Regions from separate parts of the Homo sapiens genome. Here regions 1 and 3 are each linked to region 2. Evidence: promoter capture Hi-C in 16 types of primary human blood cells and fetal thymus (Javierre and others, 2016). All regions are on one chromosome and are shown on one strand. Each heading gives the region's core, a stretch centred on a gene start or on the middle of the fragment in contact. The rest is flanking DNA. Distances are from core to core; before and after follow the strand shown.

Region 1 (3,796 bases), core at 744-3,243, 610 kb before region 2:
GCAGCACCTGTTTGCTTGCCTCATAAGTACATGGGAAGTCAATGTAATGGCAGCATTTCAATTTCAATTCATCGGAAAAGGGCCAATTTGCTTAATAGTGTTAATATAATAGAGTCTACATTTGGAAGAAGTGACATTAGATCCTCTGACTTATCTCCTTCTTTACCCGCAAAATTCTAAAGATTAAAAATGTATATTTTCTAAACCTCCACTAAAATAGAAGAAAATATAGGAGCATATTTATGTAATTTGGAGGACATGGATGGGAACTCAGAAGGCAAGGAGGAAAAGATACATATAGTATACTCTAAATAAAAAGGGTATGGTAAAACATGCCATCAGCAAAGTCAAAATCAGAAAATAGACTCTAAAACCATTTACTATTTATAGACGACAAAAGGTTTATATCCCTTTTAAGTAGAGAGCTACAGTGTCATGATAAGAAAAACAAATGAACAACTTAATAAAAATTGGACATCATGCAGAAGAGAAACTATACATGGCTGATAAACGTAGGAAAAGATGGCCAGCTTTATAAAAAGGTCTAGGAAATGTAAATTATAATAGCCGTGAGAGTCCATGTTTCTCTCATTGTGTAGAGTCAGTGCTAGTGAGGATGTGGGGAAACAGGTGTGTTTAAGCACTGCTGCTGGTAACATGAATTTCTATTATCTAATTGATAGTAATTGGGCAATATTGAAATTTAAAATGCCCATGCCCTTTGGCCCAACATATCTCACTTTTGGGAATCTGTACCGTTAAAATAAATCCCCCAGTAAATAAATATATAGATATAAGCCTATGTATTACTATGAAACATAGTGGCAAAAAACCCTGGAAATATATTTGAATGCTTATCAGTAAGGGAATTATTGAATAAATTATGCGTATGTATGTACATATGGGATGTTGAACATATTGAAAAGGATGTTAGATATCCATGTATCAGCCTGGAGGGAGAGATTTATTAATAATTTTTAAAAGTTGCAGATTGTTAAATATATTTAATATGATTACATTTTAGTTTTTGTTCATTTTTAAAAAAGACAGAATACCTCTCTGTGATCTCTGTTTATATGAGAGAAAGGTGTTGAAAGGCACATACCAGGCTGTGTGTTAACATTGGGTCCTCAAGGGGGAGATCATTATGCTTTTCATTTTGCATCTCTTTACCACGTTACCATTTTGACTTCCCACAACCAATATATGTTTATAAGTTAAAACTTATACAATCAACAATTTAGAGAAAATTAACTTGGATCTGTATTTTCTTTGCTATTTCCAACTTTATCCTGTTTCTCAGACTTGTGACTTGTGGGAAGGAGAGGGTTTGAAATGTAAATTCTGCTAATCTGAGAATTCCTTAATGTATACCTAATTTTGGTGTCACCCTAATAGTGAATTCTGTGTCAGTAGAGCTTTGTTAGAACTGCAGATTTAGAGCTACAGTAAACACTTAATTTTACATTTTATTCCTTATATGAACTTTCTGTATGTTACATGGGCAATTAATAGGTTGTCTTAAGACACTCAGATGGGAGAGATTGCATTTCAGAACCTCAAAGCCTAATGTCAGTCAAAAATACACCTAAGATTTTGTTACTTAGGGTTTTATTCTATTCAGTCTTTAATTCGACCATTTGTGTTAGAATTCATTAATAGTACTCATGTCAGCAAGGGAGGTGGTTGTATTTCTAATTACAAATTCTCAGTATAATCTTCATTCCTTCTCAGGAGATTATTTGGTAGCAATTGAAGAGAAAAACAAAGCTACATTTCTACGTGCTTATGTGAACTGGAGAAATAAAAGGACTGAAAACTCTCGTGTGTGTATCCGAATGATTGGGCATAATGTGGAGGGACCATTCAGCAAAGCCTTCAGAGACCAGATGTACATTATTGAAATGCCGCTTTCGGAGGCCCCCTTGTGCATTTCCTGTTGCCCTGTGAAAGGAGACCTTCTCGTTGGCTGCACAAATAAATTAGTCTTATTTAGTTTGAAGTACCAGATCATTAATGAGGAATTCTCACTATTGGACTTTGAACGTTCTTTAATTATACACATAGATAATATCACTCCTGTTGAGGTTTCTTTTTGTGTTGGATATGTTGCTGTCATGTCAGACTTAGAAGTCTTAATCGTAAAACTGGAGTCAGGCCCTAAAAATGGAGAGAGAGTTCACCACCATCCACATAAGACCAACAATCGAATAAGACGGACAGAAGAAGGTAAATAATGAATTTGACTTGCTTTCTTGTTTTAGGAATATAGAAAACCTTCACCTTTGGCAGTCTGAAGGTCTGTGGTATATATGGTGCCCGGCCATGTTATTTATAGATTTAGTTATTCCTATTTCATGGGATTTGGTTTTATGATCTGGCTGTCCATAGCTTACTCTGTAGCATGTGAATATATTTATCAGTAGAAGTAATGGAACAACCACTGCTAGATGAGGGGCTTCTAGTCCTAGTCCTCATAGTTACTAGTTGAATGACCTTGGGTTAATAATACCATCTCTGAGTTTCAACATCCTCATTTGTAAAATGGGGATGATAATACCTACCCTGTTGTACTTTATCAGTTGTGGAGATTAAATGAGCAAGTGCTAAGTCTTTTCACAACCACAGTGCCTTGTAAATGTGTGCATATTATAAATAAATGAAATTACTATATGTCTAATTGGTGAGAGGATGTTGTAAAATCTAATTTTCATTCAAGCAGGACTGTTACATTTTATTTTTTTAAGGCATCAGTAATGAAATTTCACAGCTTGAGTCAGATGATTTTGTCATCTGCCAGAAGCCCCTGGAACTTCTTGGTGAAAAAAGTGAACAGTCTGGATTATCTGTTACACTGGAGTCTACGGGATTAGCTGATGAAAAAAGAAAATATTCCCACTTTCAGCACCTGCTCTATAGGTATTATAGTGCTTTTTTTTTTTTTACCAGCATTTTATGTATATATGCCTGCTTAAAGTACATGGAAGTTATATTTTTCCCTTTCTCTGTCTTTTTAAACCCACAGACGTTTTGCTCCTGATATTTCGTCCTATGTCTTGTCTGATGACATCAAGCTACATTCCCTCCAGCTGCTACCCATTTACCAGACCGGTAAGCATGACAGTGCAGGAGTGCGACAGTGCAGCAAGGTGAAAATGCTCTGTCTGGGCTGGGAGTGAAGACCCATGTGGGTAATAGGTTTGGTGGTTTGGTTCTTCCACTGGAGTCTCCTTGTGGCCCTTTAACAAAGTTTTTTTTTTTGTTTTTTTTTTTTTTTTTTTTTGAGACTGAGTCTCGCTTTATTGCCAGTCTGGAGTGCAGTGGTGCGATCTCGGCTCACTGCAACTTCTACTTCCTGGGTTCAAGTGATTCTCCTGCCTCAGCCTCCCGAGTAGCTGGGACTACAGGCGCCCGCCACCAAGCCCGGCTAAATTTTTTTGTATTTTTAGCAGAGACGGGGTTTCACCATGTTGGGCAGGATGGTCTCGATCTCCTGACTTTGTGATCTGCCTGTGTTGGCCTCCCAAAGTGCTAGGATTACAGGCATGAGCCACCACACCCGACCTCTATTTTATTATTATTTATTATTTTTTTTCTTGAGACAGAGTTTTGCTCTTGTTGTCCAGGCTGGAGTGCAATGGTATGATCTTGGCTCACTGCAACCTCCACCTCCCGGGTTCAAGTGATTCTCCTGCCTCAGACTCCCGAGTAGCTGGGATTACAGGAATGCCCCACCACGCCCAGCTAATTTTGTATTTTTAGTAGAGATGGGGTTTCTCCATGTTGGTCAGGCTGG
Region 2 (4,215 bases), core at 1-2,500:
AGATGATATGATTTTTATTTTTTAGGTATGTCTTCAAAAAATCAATTATAAACCATTAACAACATTATTAAAACACACAGGTACCTGCCAGGACTATGATGTAGAGTACACCAGACCGTTCTTAAGAATCCAGCCAACACAAAACAGTCCAGAAAATCCCTTACCATGAGCTTTGAGCTCTCAGTGAGGAGATACGTTAATCCTTCCACACCATGCTGGACAGTGTCACTACTCACATTGAGTTTTCCTGAGAAAGAAAAGTAAAAACGAGCAAATAAATTACTACTGTAGTATTTATCTTGTTCATATTTGTATTTAAAAATAAACACTATTCATTATTACATGTTTTCAAACACTGCATGAAAAACAGTAAGTTGGCCAGAGGCTCCTGCTCCTTGTCATTCCACTCCCAGCCAAATGCCTTTGGTATTTCCCACCAAGTAACCTTAACAAAATGCAGAACTGTGGAGACTAGTATCAGGTGCGTAGCCCTTCTCTTGAATACGTAGCTCCTTCAAGTCTGGCAGAAGAGGAACTCGACAGGGATTGACTTAATCCCAGAGACTGCCTCTTACCCAGGGGTAAAACAACACTTTTTTTTTTTTTTTTAGCAAAAGCGGATATCTGAACAACTAATAATGATAACCAAATACTTGCAATTTACAGTTGACCCAGCTATTCCACAGACTTTGGTATATTTATACAAAACACTTTTCAGTATTTCTGAAAGTAAGGTGGTATTATGTACATTTTACCATGAGAAAACTGATTTAATAGAAGCTTTAACAATCTCACAGCTACTTAAGGGACGGGCAGGATTTGCACCCTGACTGAAGAGCTCTGCTGGTTTTATTCTACTACAATCGGAACAAGACCCTAGGACTCGCAATAATCCGTTTCTCTCCCGGGAGACAGGGAATGGCTCGCAACCGCCCTAGAAGCCTGCGGAGCCTTCCCCTTTCCCTTCTTACTGGCGGCGCCTTCGTAGATTTTTGGGTTTGCGCCGCGTCTCAGGAATTCCACAGCAATCCGCCCAAACTCGGCGACCACTGCAATGAAAGTCAGAAGGCTGTTGAGTGCCAGGCGCTGCCTTTGACCTCCTCCCCAGCCCACAGAACACCGCCCCCACGCCCGCTGACCCGCGCTGTCCACTTGAGGCAGGAAGGCCAGGTGTTCCTTATGCTCCTCGGACAATTCCAGCAGCATCTTCACTGTCCTACGATTTCACCCGGCAGCGCCGACCCCGCCTTCGCCACTTCCGGCGCCCGTGTCCCGGCGCCTAGAGGCTCCGGCGTCGCAGCGTCCGGAGCTTTGGGTTCCGGCCTACGAACTAACGCGTTACACTCGGACGTTCCCTGCAGCGCAGGCTGAGGTCAGAACATTGAAATCATCCCGCAAAGATGCAGTGAGCGCCTGCTGGGTGCAAGGTGCTAGGCTCTATGGGAGATGAAAAGGTGTTTCAAATCCGACACGCCCCCTCGTGGAGCATACATTAATAATATCAATAGTTCACATTTGTTAAGCACTAACCGTGTCAGGAAGTGTTCTTACATTTATTAAATACATTTGGAGTTCAGAAGAACCCTATGAGGTAGGTTCCATTATAATTTCCATTAGAGATAAGGAAACTGATAGACAAGTCCAGCAACTGACACTTTTATAAAGCTAATAGTTTCCAGAGCTTCTATGTTATCTTAAATGTATCTCAGTTAATATCCTCAACAAACATGGCTTTGTTTTTACAGATAAGACACAAAGCTCCAGAGATTATGTGACAAAGCCTGTGACAGAGTTAGATGGAGAGGGTTGGATCCCTCACTTACCTGCTGCAAAGCCCATCCTTCTACATAACAGCCTGAAAGCTGAAAGCTTCTGACAAGTTTTATGAGTGATTATAAATTAGGATAAAGATAATGATGACAATGACCGATGCTTACAGGATTCAGAGCAATGTTTTTGTTTGTTTGTTTTGTTTTGTTTTGTTTTTTACATGGAGTCTCGCTCTGTCGCCCGGCTCACTGCAACCTCTGCCTCCCGGGTTCAAGCGATTCTCCTGCCTCAGCCTCCCGAGTAGCTGGTATTACAAGCGCCCACCACCATGCCTGGCTAATGTTTGTATTTTTAGTAGAGACGGGTTTTCACCATGTTGGCCAGGCTGGTCTTGAACTCCTGACCTCAAGTCATCCAGCCAACTTGGCCTCCCAAAGTGCTGGGATTACAAGCATGAACCACCACACCTGGCCCAGAGCAATGCCTTTTAAAAAGTATTTAGCGCCTGTGATAATTTAGTTCCTTTTCCAACTCTCTTCTCACCTGCTGTGGTTCAAATATCAGAGATGATAAAGTTGCTAATTGATAGGAATATGATTCTTCAAATCTTAACCCCTTGAAAATGGAGGGTGTGGAGGAAGAGAGGGGAAGGGAAGAAGACTCTTCATATCTGTCTTTTCTATCTAAGGCTTGAGACAACTCTATATTCTGAGTCTCCCAGGCAGACTAAAAATTGGAAGAGTTTTTCAATTCACTTCTCTGTGTCTACTTTGTCCTTCACATCTGACTGAAATTGTTTCTTCCACTGGGACACAGAAAGACAGGTCCTTGAACTTATTAGTTAGTTCTTGAAGTAGCATTTGCAGAGAGAACACAACTTTTACTTAGACTGTGAATTGCAGATTAGCAAAAATTGCATCATTTCCTGAAGTTGCCTTTATTCACACATTATTGAGAAAACATCCATTATTAAAGAATAATTTTCAGAAAAGGTAAAATCATGATTCTTCTACAAGTGTACAATGAACACATGTCAAAAAATGTATTGAACTAGTTAATTAATGAGAGAATTACAGCATTCTGTAATTAATGAGAGATTACAGTAAAAACCAGTTTCAACTGATTCAAAAGAGGTATTCAAGAACTGTACATATATAGGGAGTAGGAATGCTGAAATGAATTTGCAAATAGACACAATATTATGCCAATATGAAATGGCCTTTCTTGTCTGTAATCTCAGGGAATGAAGTGAGGACAGGCGAGGTGAAGGTGAGACTAGGGAGTAGCACAATAGGCTGTCTAAAAAAGGTGGTCAAGGAACCAAGTTAGGCCAGGTATGGTGGCTGATGCCTGTAAACCCAGCACTTTGGAAGGCCAAGGCGGGAGGATCACTTGAGGCCAGAAATTCAAGTCTAGCCTGACCAACATGGTAAAACCCCATCTCTACTAAAAATACAAAAATTAGCAAAGCTTGGTGGCATGTACCTGTGGTCCCAGCTACTTGGTAGCCCAAGGCATGAAAATTGCTTGAACCTGCGAGGCAGAGGTTGCAGTGAGCAAGATTTGAGTCACTGCACTCCAGCCTGGGTGACAGAGTCAGACACTGTCAAAAAAAAAAAAAAGAAAGAAACCAAGTTATATCCAAGAAAAACCAGCCTGGGAGTTAAAACACCCCAGGATAATTTATAGAGTGACTTCTGTTGCCATAAGTGATATAATTGTTTAGAAAAAATTACCTGAGTGAAAATTCAAAACTCTAGATTCCAGATCTGGCTCTGACACTACCTGTATGACTTCTAATAAGTTGTTTTTATGTTATAACCATAGCCTCTTCGTCTGTAAAACTGGCATTTTAATACTGCCCTTCTGTGCCATGCAGGGCTGTTATGATGCTCAGATGAACTAATAAATTCACATTAAAAATTGATTTTGATGATCAAATGAAACAATAAATTAGAATTAAGCAAACAGCAGCATTTACATTTTATAGGAGCAGATTTTATGCTCCTATAAATTCACAAATAATCATCTTAAAAGCCATTCATTTAATTTAACAAACTTTATTAAGCAATTCCTTAAAGGTTCAAAGATATGCTATGCTTTGGCAATTTGTAGATGAATAAAACAATGTCCTTGCCCTCTAGGAGGTGTCAGAAAAGTGAGGGAGAAAGATAATGAAGTAATTTCCATACAGTGTGATGAGTAGCAATACTTGGAGAATGAACAAAATGAGAAGGAAGCATAGGGAATGTACATTAACTCTAATTTAAAAGAATCAGGCTGAGAATAAATGTCCCAGCATATCCTGTGCATGTTAATACTAATGCTCTACAATTAGATTTACATTATAAATATATACAGTCTTAATGTCACTTCATGCTATCTTACTTCCAGGGTGAATGTGAACAAATAATAAATACTCAGTATTTTTTTCAATTGATGCTG
Region 3 (4,063 bases), core at 751-3,250, 750 kb before region 2:
TACATAAAGCTGAGATTGGGTTTTCATTGTTGCTATTCACAGAAATTGAATTATTTTTAGTTATTTGGCTGAGGATTTGGGAATTGTGGCTATATATGAAATGTAATTGAAAATAATAGGGAAGTTTAAGTCTCAGTTTTATTTCACTATTTAGCTTGTTTATGCTGTAAGCTAATAGTTCTCAAAACAAGGGTGATTATGTCCCCCAAAGGACATTTGGCAATGTCTGGAGACATTTTTGGTTGTTACAACTGAAGGGGGAGGGTGCAAAGGGCATCTGATGAGTGGAGGTCCAGGATGCTAAACATCCTACAATGCACAAGACGATTTCTTCCAACAAAGAATTACCTAGCCCAGCATGTCAGTAGTGCTGAGGTTGCGAAACTCTGCTCTCTACATGCTCTAAAACAGAGCAGGAGTATCTGAACCATAATGTATGGCAGCATCTAACAAGAAGTGAAGTCTTGTTTTAAGCAACCTTAAAATAAGAAAATAATAATGTGTTAAATGTTCACCGTGGTCAAGGCCGAATGAAACTTCTTCGCTTTACTGACATGTTTTTAGCTCCTGCTATTTTCCTTTCATAGAAGGAATGAAAGCTGTATTAGCCTTTAAGTTCAAAAGATGTATTCCTTATTTCTACTGCTTATACTGAAAGTTACCTTTGCATAAAAGAGGAGAGTGTTTTTAGCAGAAGTCCACTGTTTGTCTTAACCTTCTCGTCAGAGTGTAGCTTTCTTCACCTCCTCTCCTAATTTGAAGGAAGTAAGTGTAATCCTGCCAGAAATTCGGTGTAACTCTTTTCAGCTTTAGTAAGTGAATCACATTCTAAAGTATATCTTGTGGCCTGCCAACTGCCTGAAATCCACATGATTTTAATCATGTAAAGAGAATCCAATTTCTAACCTAGAAAACGATTAGATGTTATTGAGAGGTAAGACTTTGATTACCAAACAGTAGTGTGCCGTGGTAAATTATCTAGGTTATAATTTGAGAATATGAAACTAACTAACCTATTCTTTGTTAAGAAGCTTGGATGCGTGCAGAGTGCTCGACTAGGAAGCACTTCCTGCTTTTTCAGCCAGAATCTGAAACCACCGTGAGATTCTGTCTGTGCCTCTAGCACATTTCATTATTCAGCAGCAGGTTTCCAGGTGCTGGCCATCCTCTGAGGTATTCCATTTACTGGCTCATTGGTGGTGAAGGACTGAATCTTCTCTGTTAATAGAAATTGAAAGAGGTAAAAAGTCATCTATGCAGCTGAGAACTTATGGTTCTCAATATGTTGTTTAAATTCAGCAGAAGAATGAATTAGCAGTTCTCGAATCAAAGGTTGTGTTCACTTGAAATATGTGTTAAGCTTTACTTAGCAAAGAAAGCTCACTCTATACCTTGGGAGGCTGCTTCTCTCTGGAGGGGTTTACTATCCACTTGAATCAATGTGTGAACTGTGTGACATAAAGATGTGTTGGACTTATGCTTGATAGCAATAAAATATTTCTTTATGGACAATGACTTTGTCTAATGGCAGTAACCTTTGCCTCTGGTTTTCAATATGTTATTATATAAAAATTATAAATATAGTAAAAGTAAATAGTCTTAAATATAAAAATTAAGAATTATATAAAAATAATTTTGGTTAGGTGTTGTGCTGTAGGCACTGATGAACATTTTCAGGTGTTCCTTTCACAGTTACCCACATTTTCTCACAACCATAGTTTCTCCCTCCACCACCCCCATAGTCAGTTTTAAGTCCCGGAATTTTCAGCTCAGACCAGTTTTACAGATGACTGTATCTCAGTGTGAATATCTCGCAGGTCATGTTTTTAACCTCTTTCCTGTGTTCATCAGAAACTGGTGGGGCCTGATGTCCACTGACAAGCCACACAGGCTGTTGATGGCTGAGCATTTGCAGCTGCTTTTGCAACCCTTCTCATGCAAAAGAATGTGGCTGTCATTCTTCTAATCACCAGCCCTCTATTCACAGCCTCTCCACCTCTCTATTCTGTGACTCTGGCCAAGAGAATAATCCTAATATGGCAAACCATACGAGGTACCTGGACTTCTCTTTCTTCCTAAAATTCTATAATGTTAGATTTTAGAACTGGTGACTACATAACCGAATTCATGGCTGGTGTCTAATTTTCCATAATGAAGAGTCAAACTTCTATACTGTTGTATTTTCAAACTGTCTTGGCACTTACTTCATCACTGTAATTACATATTTCCCGAAAAGTTGAACAATAGCTGTTGTGAAATAGTTCTACACTAGTATTGTATAGGATGTGACAAGATAAGGTTAGCTTCTGGGCATGTTAGCACTAAGAGGGGAAGAGAGAGCTCATTATATTGTAGGTTCTAATCAGCAGTTTTGCTTCTGCCACATCGGTGAAATGAGGCTGATGAACTTGACTCTGAAGAAATCAACCTGAATGCAAGTTGAGGTTTATTTTCTTTTCCCCTGTGACTAATATATCTTAAGAGTGCTTGTATAGTTGAAGAGTTAAGTGCTTAAAAATTGTCTATTTTGTCTGTATGTGTTAGTTTCAAAAACCTAAGTCAGAGGAATTCATATTTTGTAATTTGGAATATCCTTAAAAAACATCTTATACTCATTTTGATTACTGCAGTGTAAATATCCTAAGCTTTTGATTGGTGTACTGGAATTTTGGTCTGTAGTTGAATTTCTAGAAAGAAGAAAACATAGGAGAGAATAAATTAGTAGCAGAATATTAGGTATGATTTATTTAAGTAGAGTCCAGGATCCGCTTTGAGGTCACTATATTTGTGTGTTCCAAATTCTAAGTGGTCATTGAGTCCCATAAGCAGAGTACAGTAATGTTTTAAAATAATGTTTAACAGAAATGATTTGGTGCTACATTGTATTAAAGTGTAAAATTGACCCCAGAGCTAGATTTTAAAATCTTTGTAGTTAATTAGGCTTCATGTTGGACCTGCCCAAAAAAAGAATGAAGGACTGAGATATTTCAAGATGGTACTTGTCCAAACCAAATGAGCTGAGAGATTTTGGTGTGCTTCACTTGGTTCCCTGACTTGATAGGTCAGCCCGGACAGTTATCTTCCCATGGTGACTTCCCCCAGCCACCCAAGCACTAGGCTGCCTGTTCTAGTAATTTATCAGTTGTTTTGGAAATGACTGTGTTCTCTTGCATTTGTGTCATTTTATTGATAGTTTGGATAATAAGTATCTTGAGGAAAAGCAAAAGCCATATCATGTAATGGCAAAATTAATGAGCACACGTAAGTTTTTTTAAGAGCTATTGTTATGTCACTGTACCCGTGAATATACTTTTTTAACTTAGCCACCTGTCTCCAGCTTTGTAACTGTCAGAGATCATGAACCCTGTGAGAAATAGAGGAGGAGGAAGGGACTAATGTGTTATATGTATGCAGGCTTGTATGCTGGTCATTTTACCTACTTTTTCACTTATTTCTCAACAGTCCTGTGAGGTAGGCATTCATACATCCATTCATATAACAAATATTAATTGAGAGCCTGCTATCTAGCTAGCACTGGGGACCTGCCATTGGTACAGTTCAGGGCAGCAGCTTGCCTGATGTCTCTGAGCTAGGCAAAGTCAGGTCTGAACCAGGGTCCTTCTCAACTCTGGTTGGGTTATGTGTTGTGGTGGGGTGGGTGGTGGTGGTGGGTGGTTTTTCCATTCCCAATTCTCTCATATGGCAGCATTCTTGAGTATGTATCCTGAGAATAATACGGGATGGAGGAAGATCCCTATTACCTTGGCTTTATGACAGATGAATTAAGTAATTTCTCTGAGTAGACAGAGCAGCTGGTATATTCCTCATTTTACAAATGAAGGAATGGAGGCTCAAGTCTTCTATCTCTATTGCTACTGTTCCTCCCCTCTGATCCAAAATACCTAAAAATACTTTGTCGTTTAAAATCAGCAGCACAGTTCATCGTCTTGCAGTGTTTTATGGAGTCTAGATGTATTCTTGGAAGGGTTCCTCTCACCTATATTTCTGTAGTAGGTCCATTCATTATTTCAAACATAATTTTAATTTCTAATCTGGGCAAAAT

The links. The method cuts DNA at HindIII sites, captures the fragments that hold promoters and counts their contacts. A CHiCAGO score of 5 or more calls a contact.
Region 1: a fragment that was not itself captured here is called in contact with the fragment with the promoter of COMMD2 in region 2 in 2 of 17 cell types (naive CD8 T cells and naive CD4 T cells); the score reaches 6.3 in naive CD8 T cells.
Region 3: a fragment that was not itself captured here is called in contact with the fragment with the promoter of COMMD2 in region 2 in 6 of 17 cell types (naive CD4 T cells, activated CD4 T cells, naive CD8 T cells and 3 more); the score reaches 9.9 in naive CD4 T cells.

What each region holds. Positions count from the first base shown.
Region 1 is chr3:149,138,270-149,142,065 of GRCh38, forward strand. It overlaps HPS3 (HPS3 biogenesis of lysosomal organelles complex 2 subunit 1), which reads left to right. Exons shown (of 17, transcript NM_032383.5): 2 at 1,735-2,229; 3 at 2,748-2,919; 4 at 3,026-3,111. Among named protein-coding and RNA genes, the nearest start is that of HPS3, 11 kb to the left of the region's middle. The HindIII fragment of the contact is 4,138 bases long and covers 1-3,796 here.
Region 2 is chr3:149,751,239-149,755,453 of GRCh38, forward strand. COMMD2 (COMM domain containing 2) reads right to left here and starts at 1,251. Exons shown (of 5, transcript NM_016094.4): 1 at 1,140-1,251; 2 at 972-1,049; 3 at 165-247. The coding sequence starts at 1,206. RefSeq lists a silencer at 1,407-1,476. The HindIII fragment of the contact is 1,089 bases long and covers 779-1,867 here.
Region 3 is chr3:148,998,123-149,002,185 of GRCh38, forward strand. The region is part of intron 4 of GYG1 (glycogenin 1); the gene reads left to right. Among named protein-coding and RNA genes, the nearest start is that of GYG1, 8.6 kb to the left of the region's middle. The HindIII fragment of the contact is 1,285 bases long and covers 1,359-2,643 here.